2 separate regions of the Homo sapiens genome follow, and region 1 is linked to region 2. The links are contacts of gene promoters, found by promoter capture Hi-C in human tissues and cell types (Jung and others, 2019). All regions are on one chromosome and are shown on one strand. The core of a region is centred on a gene start or on the middle of the fragment in contact, and the rest is flanking DNA. Distances in the headings are between cores, read along the strand shown. Region 1 overlaps SLC25A33 (solute carrier family 25 member 33). Region 2 holds the start of SLC25A33 (solute carrier family 25 member 33).

The links. Contacts are between HindIII fragments. The study calls those that stand out against the background at their distance.
Region 1: a contact is called between a fragment that was not itself captured here and the fragment with the promoter of SLC25A33 in region 2, in 1 of the 25 tissues and cell types used here (liver).

The regions. Positions count from the first base shown.
Region 1 is chr1:9,573,247-9,577,013 of GRCh38, reverse strand. It overlaps SLC25A33 (solute carrier family 25 member 33), which reads right to left. Exons shown (of 7, transcript NM_032315.3): 5 at 3,602-3,668. It also overlaps the pseudogene RPL9P11. Among named protein-coding and RNA genes, the nearest start is that of TMEM201, 14 kb to the left of the region's middle. The HindIII fragment of the contact is 3,228 bases long and covers 1-3,073 here.
Region 2 is chr1:9,537,743-9,541,674 of GRCh38, reverse strand. SLC25A33 (solute carrier family 25 member 33) reads right to left here and starts at 2,210. Exons shown (of 7, transcript NM_032315.3): 1 at 1,928-2,210. The coding sequence starts at 1,983. RefSeq lists enhancers at 1-329, 1,355-1,484, 2,151-2,445 and silencers at 1,555-1,914, 1,935-2,454. The HindIII fragment of the contact is 17,899 bases long and covers 1-3,932 here.

The DNA.
Region 1 (3,767 bases), core at 210-2,709, 36 kb before region 2:
GTTTCTGTAGCGGGACAACTCTTAGATCTTATTCATCAGCCTGCTGAACAGTTCCTTTTTCAGAGACATAGATACCATCCCCAAACTTCCTGATATCCTTAACTGTTGTGGCTTGCTGAATCAAGGCAACTGAATTTGAAACAAGCTCGATGTCATTTCCTTCAAGGATTAAATTCATCTTTCTAGGCTTGAGATACTGAACAAGCAACACCTGGTCTCATCTGAACCCTGCGGGTGTATTTTTCATCCAAGAAATTTCGGATTTCAACAAGAGACCCATCCTCCTGGATAACAATGTCGGTGGGGAAGTGAGCATACGCAGACCTCATCTTGTAACAGAAGCCCAGTGTAACACCCTTGATCGTGTTCTGCACATAACTACCAACAGTTCGAACGGTAGCCAGTTCCTTTCTGTTACCCCACCGTGTGGCACTCCAGAGCCTCTTTAGACTGAGTTCTACATTGATGTGACTGAAGTCCCTCTGCATGGTTCCTCTGGGGCCATTCACAGTAACTGTGCATCTCTTCAGGGTAATGTTGACATTTTCTGGAATGACAACAGTCTGATTGCTGTGAATGGTCTTCATTTTCACAGTAGACACGGCAAAGCCCACCTGGCTATTCTTAAGATGGGAGTTGGGTGCTGCTGCCTCTGAAGGCCCTCCCAACCTTCTCTCTCTTAACCCAACCTGTACTGGGTGACTCTTGAAGGTCTAGTGGCACCCTCAGCAACCTTATCCCACCAAACTTTAATTATCTTATCTGTGAAGCTGTAAGTTCCTAGAAGCTAGGTCTTAATTCCCTGCTGTTTCCCTAGTGACTAGTGCAAGCAACAAATATTCACTGCTGAGAGACAAATATTAACAGAGCTCACCCAAAGTTCTAAAGTATTCTTGAGCACCATCATTAGGCAGAATGACAAGAATACATATACAGGCTCTCAGCTGATGGACGCATTTATCCCTTGCTAAACAGAAGTGATATGAGTTTACTATGGGACACTTGGAATTAGGAGGAATTACCAAAGGCTTCCACAACAGGTGACAGCATGACCAGGAAGGGGAAGGGGGAATCTCTGGTGAGGGACAGCATATGTGGGGAGACAGAGCAATAAAAGCACATGACATTTTTGGAAAACTACAGGACTGCTGAATTAGGAATTTACCCTGAGAGGAACAGATTCATCAAAAGAGTCTGAACAAGTGGTCTGTTCAAATGATTATACCTGATGCATGTTAGAAGGCTCTTTTGGGCAGAATAGATTGATTGGGCGAACTTGGAGTCAAGTGACTCATGCAGAGGTTATCATGGTCATTAGGAAGAAAAATGAACTGGGGCCCCTACCTACCCTTCCTGGGGTACTCCCTGCCTCCTTTCGTTTTGCTTTCGTTTTTTTTTCCAGACAGAGTCTTACTCTATCACCCATGCTGAAGTGCAGTGGTGTGATCTCGGCTCACTGCAACCTCCACCTCCCGGGTTCAAGTGATTCTCCTGCCTCACTCTACTAAGTAGCTAGGATTACAGGCGCCCACCACCACGCCTGGCTAATTTTTGTATTTTTAGTAGAGACGGGGTTTCACCATGTTGGCCAGGCTGGTCTCGAACTCCTGAGTTTGTGACCCACCCGCCTCGGCCTCCCAAAGTGCTGGGATTACAGGCATGAGCCACTACGCCCAGCTCTGCCTCCTTTCTTTAGAGGCAGCTGAAAATCAGAGTGGACTGGCTGGAAGTTTCCAGTGCATACATTTCCAGGCAACACAGTAATACAGGGGTTCTTATTTTTTTTTTTTTTTTTTTTTTTGAGCCAGAGTCTCGCTCTGTCACCCAGGCTGGAGTGCAGTGGCACGATCTTGGCGCACTGCAAGCTCCACCTCCCGGGTTAACGCCATTCTCCTGCCTCAGTCTCCCAAGTAGCTGGGACTACAGGCGCCCACCATCACGCCCGGCTTATTTTTTGTATTTTTAGTAGAGACAGGGTTTCACCGTGTTAGCCAGGTTGGTCTCGATCTCCTGACCTCGTGATCTGCCCGCCTCAGCCTCTCAAAGTGCTGGGATTACAGGTGTGAGCCACCGCACCCGGCCTACAGGGGTTCTTAATAGAATGCTGGTAGTTCCTTCACTTGGACTGGGGAGAAAATGCATCTTTAACCCTAATCCCTAACCGAAATCCAATAGTTGAAGTTGTTAACTATTGGAGTTTAGGGCTAAGCATAGTGGGGTATCTAATCCCAATTTGGGTCTTAGCTATTGTGTCTTCAGAAGTATTAAAGCCACCTTCATAGTTTATTTTATTTCAGCTAGGGTTTTTTACAACTTAGATGAAGCTTAGCTTTATTAAGTCTAAAACACTCTTTACACCGGGTTCCATTAGCTTGGGTTAATTGTATTCATTACGAATGTAAATACACAGGCCACAGTAGTAGCAGCAGTAGTAACTGTGATTTGACACACACAGAAATATTTTCATGTCACATTACATTTGTTGAAAACATCACAGGACACTGTTTATCATTTCTTAGAAATTATAGTAGTTACTGGACTACTGCCATATCTTATTAATTTAATGTGTTAAAGAGGCATACTACTGTATCACTGACAAGTGTATTTTTAAAAACCTTATTAAGGCCTGGTGTGGTGGTTCACGCCTGTAATACCAGCACTTTGGGAAGCCAAGGCAGGAGGACTGCTTGAGCCCAGGAGTTGAGACCAGCCTGGGCAACATGGCAAGATCCATCTCTACAAGAAAAACAAAATTAGCTGGGTGTGGTGGCATGCACCTGTGGTCTCAAACTACTGAGGAGGTGAGGCTGAGGCAGGAGGATTGCTTGAGCCTGGGAGGTCGAGGCTGGGTGATAGATGAGGCCCTGCCTCAAAAGAACAAAAAAAAAAAAAAAAGAAAAGAAAAGGAAACAAAATACATTATTCTACTTAGGAGGCATAGATTGCAGTGAGCCAAGATTGGACCACTGCACTTCAGCTTCGGCAACAAGTAAGACCCTATCTCAAAACAAAAAAACAAAACAACAACAACAACAACAAAAAAACAAAAAAACTCAAAAAACAACATTATTCTAAAAAGGGCCTGCAGGTGTCACCAGACTACCAAAGGAATCCACAGAGCCCCACAAAATGTTACAAACCCCTGGCTGGAGCTTGAGGGTAGAAACCTATTACAGCTGAGGGCCTTTGGAGACTAAAATTAGCCCTCTGAGGTCTGAGGACACTCAGTGTTGTGCCTGTACTGTCTTCCCTTTTGAAAGGGAGACCATCCGGAGGAGAACCCACAGCACTTCAACTGGGGTGGGGTCTGCAAAGGAGAGACAGTCACTGACTCTCTGAGACAACAGGTGGGACTGCGGATCAGGGGACACAACCAGAGATATCCCCTCCTTCCCCTGTTTGTCATCTCTGTCGCCCTCATCTTCCCATGATGCTTATAGCACAAACCTCAACACAAAAGGAATCCTGCGTGCACTTAGATTAAGGAAACGAGGAGGGGGGTACATCTCTATATCTCATCCTTAGAGATGTGGAGGAATTGGGGCAAGAAAAAAAAATCCCAAAAATCCTTTCATTAAGGAAGGAACAAATAATAACTTACTTCTGTTCTAGCTGCATTCGGGTTTTAACCATCCATATAGGATTCATTAAGGAATTTGTGATAAAAGCTGGAAAAAAAAAAAACAGTAAAGGTCAACACTGTACATAGTCCATACTTATTAAAGATGTCTATTATCATATAATAAACTTTGAAATAGGGATTTCAA
Region 2 (3,932 bases), core at 961-3,460:
TAAAATTCCCAAGAAAGACAAATTTATATAGAGTGGCTTAATTTAAGAATGCTTCCCCCTTGTGTTACTCTGAAAGGAAGTCTCTGCCGGGCATGGTGGCTCACGCCTGTAATCCCAGCAATTTGGGAGGCCAAGGTGGGCCATCACTTGAGGTCAGGAGTGCCAGCCTGGCCAACATGGCAAAACTCCGCCTCTTAGCAAAAACACAAAAAAATTAGCTGGGCGTGGCCGGGCGCAGTGGCTCACACTTGTAATCCCAGCACTTTGGGAGGCCGAGGCGGGCGGATCACGAGGTCAGGAGATCGAGACCATCCTGGCTAACACGGTGAAACCCCGTCTCTACTAAAAATACAAAAAGCTGGGCGTAGTGGCGGGTGCCTGTAGTCCCAGCTACTCGGGAGGCTGAGACAGGAGAATGGCGTGAACCCGGGAGGCGGAGCTTGCAGTGAGCTGAGATGGCGCCAGTGCACTCCAGCCTGGGCTACAGAGCGAAACTCCGTCTCAAAAAAAAAAAAAGAAAAAAAAAATTAGCCAGGCTTGGTGGCGGGGCCTGTAATCCCAGCTACTCGGGAGGCTGAGGCAGGAGAATCGCCTGAATCCGGGAGGCGGAAGTTGCAGTGAGCCCAAAGATCGCACCACTGCACTCCAGCCTGGGCGACAGAGGAAGACTCCCTCTCAAAAAAAAAAAGGAAGTCTCAATGGAGACATGGAGGGAAGGGTTGCAAGGGAATGAATGACAGGGAAGAGATGAATGAGAAACTCTTCCAATCTATGAAGACCCACCGAAGTTTTTGGTTAAAGTAACCTGGTGACTGCCCACAATACAAGTACAAAAAAAGCTCAGGGACGCTTTCATCAGTCATCTTCCAAGATAAGTTTCTCAACCATTGTTTGTTGTAAGGAACATATCCAGGTAGGAATCCAGGCTGCAACTACTCAAGCCAAGATGATCATCCCAGAATAAACTATTTTATGCAAAATATCCTACACTCAAAAATTCCTGTGCCAGGCCGATGAGGTCCTCAAATTAATACTCCAAATATCTGTAAGACTCCGAAAGGACCCCAAGCCACCGGCTGTGATAAAGGAAAAAAGAAAATTACTAATACTCAAAAATATTTTACCTTCTATTCTCGGCGGGAGGTGACAAGGGGAGGTGGCGAGGGGTACCATCTCCCTTCCTAACCGCAGAACTCAACCTCCTAAAAATGCATTGTCTCCGCTGGAAAAAAGGTGCCTGACCATAGACCTAATGCAGCTTTCAAAACAAGGAACACCTTACAATTCTGCGGTCTCTGGCGTTGGAAGCGTCTACCAGCCGGCGAGAAGTGTCTCAACACACCTTCCAGACCTCATATGAGTTCGGGTCCCTGGCTTAGCCACCCCGCGTGTGGCCGCAAGCATCACCGTTCACCAGCACCACCCAGGCCTTGCTGACGTCCAACGTCCGCAGACCTTTTTGCCCGTCCGGATGACCTCCCGCGCTGCCCTGAGGAACCTCGGGCACACCCGAGCATCAGCGATCCTACCACGGGCTCTGAGGCGCTGCGCTTCGGGAGAGGCCCCAGGAGAAGGGGGCGGGGGAGGGGGGGCCGCGCCACAGCGTCCAGGCTGGACCGCCGCCGAGCACCACTCACCGGCCACTGACTCTTCAGAATGGGGAAAAGCTGGGGACGCCGCGGGGAGGACGGGCGGCGGGGCACAGCCGCCCTCGGGGCTGCGGTCAGGACGTAGGGGTGAGGAAGGCCCGACCCCCTCCCTCGGCCCTGCCCACCAGTCCCCGACGCCGGGACTTCCTCCTCCCGAGCGCCGGCGCCGTAGCCCGGGGAAGGCCGGTAACCGCCGCGGGAGGCTGGGGCCGCGCCCGGGGCGAAGGCCGAGGGGACCGCAGGCGGTGGGGCGCGCGCGGCTGGGCCCGGGAACTCACCCGCCGGCGAAGAGGTGAAGCAGCGTGTTCTCCTTCTGCTGGCCGCCCGTCGCCATGGCCGCGCCGGCTCCGCGGCCCGTCGCCGCCCGGTGGCGAGAGCGCGTGGCGGCTCGAGGGATGCGCGAGGTCGCCGGGTCTTGTCTCCCCGCTGCCCTCAGGGGGCTGCCGGCAACGCCTCCATGCGCGCGCGGGCTCCAACGCCCGGCTCTGCTCGGCCCGCGCCTTCCGCGGCGTGGCCGCCGGCGCCTCACCGGCCTCTGCGGCGCGAGCCCGGCGGGGAGCTAGAGCCCGGCGCGCGGCCGTCACGTGGCGGGGGCCGGACCGTGACGTCACGGGCGCGCGAGTCTGGGGCGGGGCGTGACGGGGGTGTGGACCCAAATTTCGAGCGCTCATTGGTTAGGACGCGGATGTGGGCGGGGAGGTTGCGCAGTTCTGGGGCGGAGCCAGCCCCGAGCGAATGACTGGGGAGAGGGGCTGGCCTAGGCCGGAGCGTGGAGGCAGTGGAAACTGGCTGTGACTGACTGGTCCTCGCTCCTCAGAGAAGCCTCGCGAGGCCCTAGGCCTTGCCTTATTTTAAAAGTTTACTTTGTGATATTTACGTGTGCAAAAGGTGTACAAATTACGTGTTACATCTCACACCTCTGTACTCACCACCCCGTTTAGGGAAACAAAAACATAATCTAAAAATCTATAATCTAAACAGCCTTAGATAATCAGTGAGGCCCTCACGGTGGCTCACGCCTGCAATCTCAACACTTTGGGAGGCCGAGGCGGGCGGGCGGATCGCCTGAAGCCAGGAGTTACAGACCAACCTGTCCAAGACGGCGAAACCGTGTCTCTACTAGAAATACAAAAGTTAGCCGGACGAGGCGGCGCACCCCTGTCATCCCAGCTACTTGGGTGGCTGAGGCTGGATAATCGCTTGAGCCCGGGAGGCGGGGGCTGCAGTGAGCCAAGATCTTGCCACTGCACTCCAGCCTGGACGACAAAGCGAGACTCTGTCTCAAATAATTAATAATCATTATCATTATGTGGATTTTTGATCTCCCTATAAGTAGTAGTATATGCTGCGTATATTTTGCAGTATGCTTTTTGCTTCTTTTCTGATCATCTCCAGCCCAGACCTAGATATCCAAACTGCTTCTCTCAGCCTATGTCACTGGGTCATTGTCATACTCAACCTGACATCTTCTAATCTCCAGGTCTCCCCCAGATGGAGACTTTCCTGGCCGCCTTTGCAGCGCAGTCTGTCACACGACTATAGAACCAGGGCTTCTGCAGTTAGTTTGTTGATTTATTTAAGTTGTCCTTCCCATACAGGAATGTAAGCTTCAGGAGAGCAGGGACCTTATTTCTTTTGTTCACAGTTGTTCCTGACACAGTACCTGCCACCTAGTAATGCCCAAGGAGCTAATGAATAAAGGTCCCAAATTGAACTTATCATTCTTCCCCTCCCCCAAACCTGCTCTACCTCTATTTCCTGTCCTGGCAGTGACACCACTGACTGCACAGGCACCAGTGCCAGAAGCTTTCCTGTTACCTTGGACTATGTCTCTCTGTCTGTCTCTCTCTCAGCAGACCACCATTCACCTGCAGAACGTACCAACCCTTTCTCTTCCGTCTCTCAGAGCTCCGGAAAGCTGTACCTTGACCAGAACAAGCAGTTAGATGTCCTGTGTGTAAACATAGAGAGCTTAAGTAGGAGGGAATTGTGTGGAAACGTGGGAGCTAGCCAGCCAATCTGTATTTGATTGCTGGGACTCTTTAAATAAAAACAGCTCTTAGGAGCAGTCCTCCAAAATGCAAATACAGTGGTTACTATTAAAGCCATTGCTCCCAGGCCTAGGAGAAGGGGAAGCCATACTAGGGCATGAGATATCTGAGAAAAAGAAGTAAAGAAAACCCAGCACAGTGGCCCACTCCTGTCATCCCAGCACTTTGGGAGGCTGAGAAGAGTGGATGACTTGAGTCTAGTAGCTCAAGACCAGCCTGGATAACGTGGCAA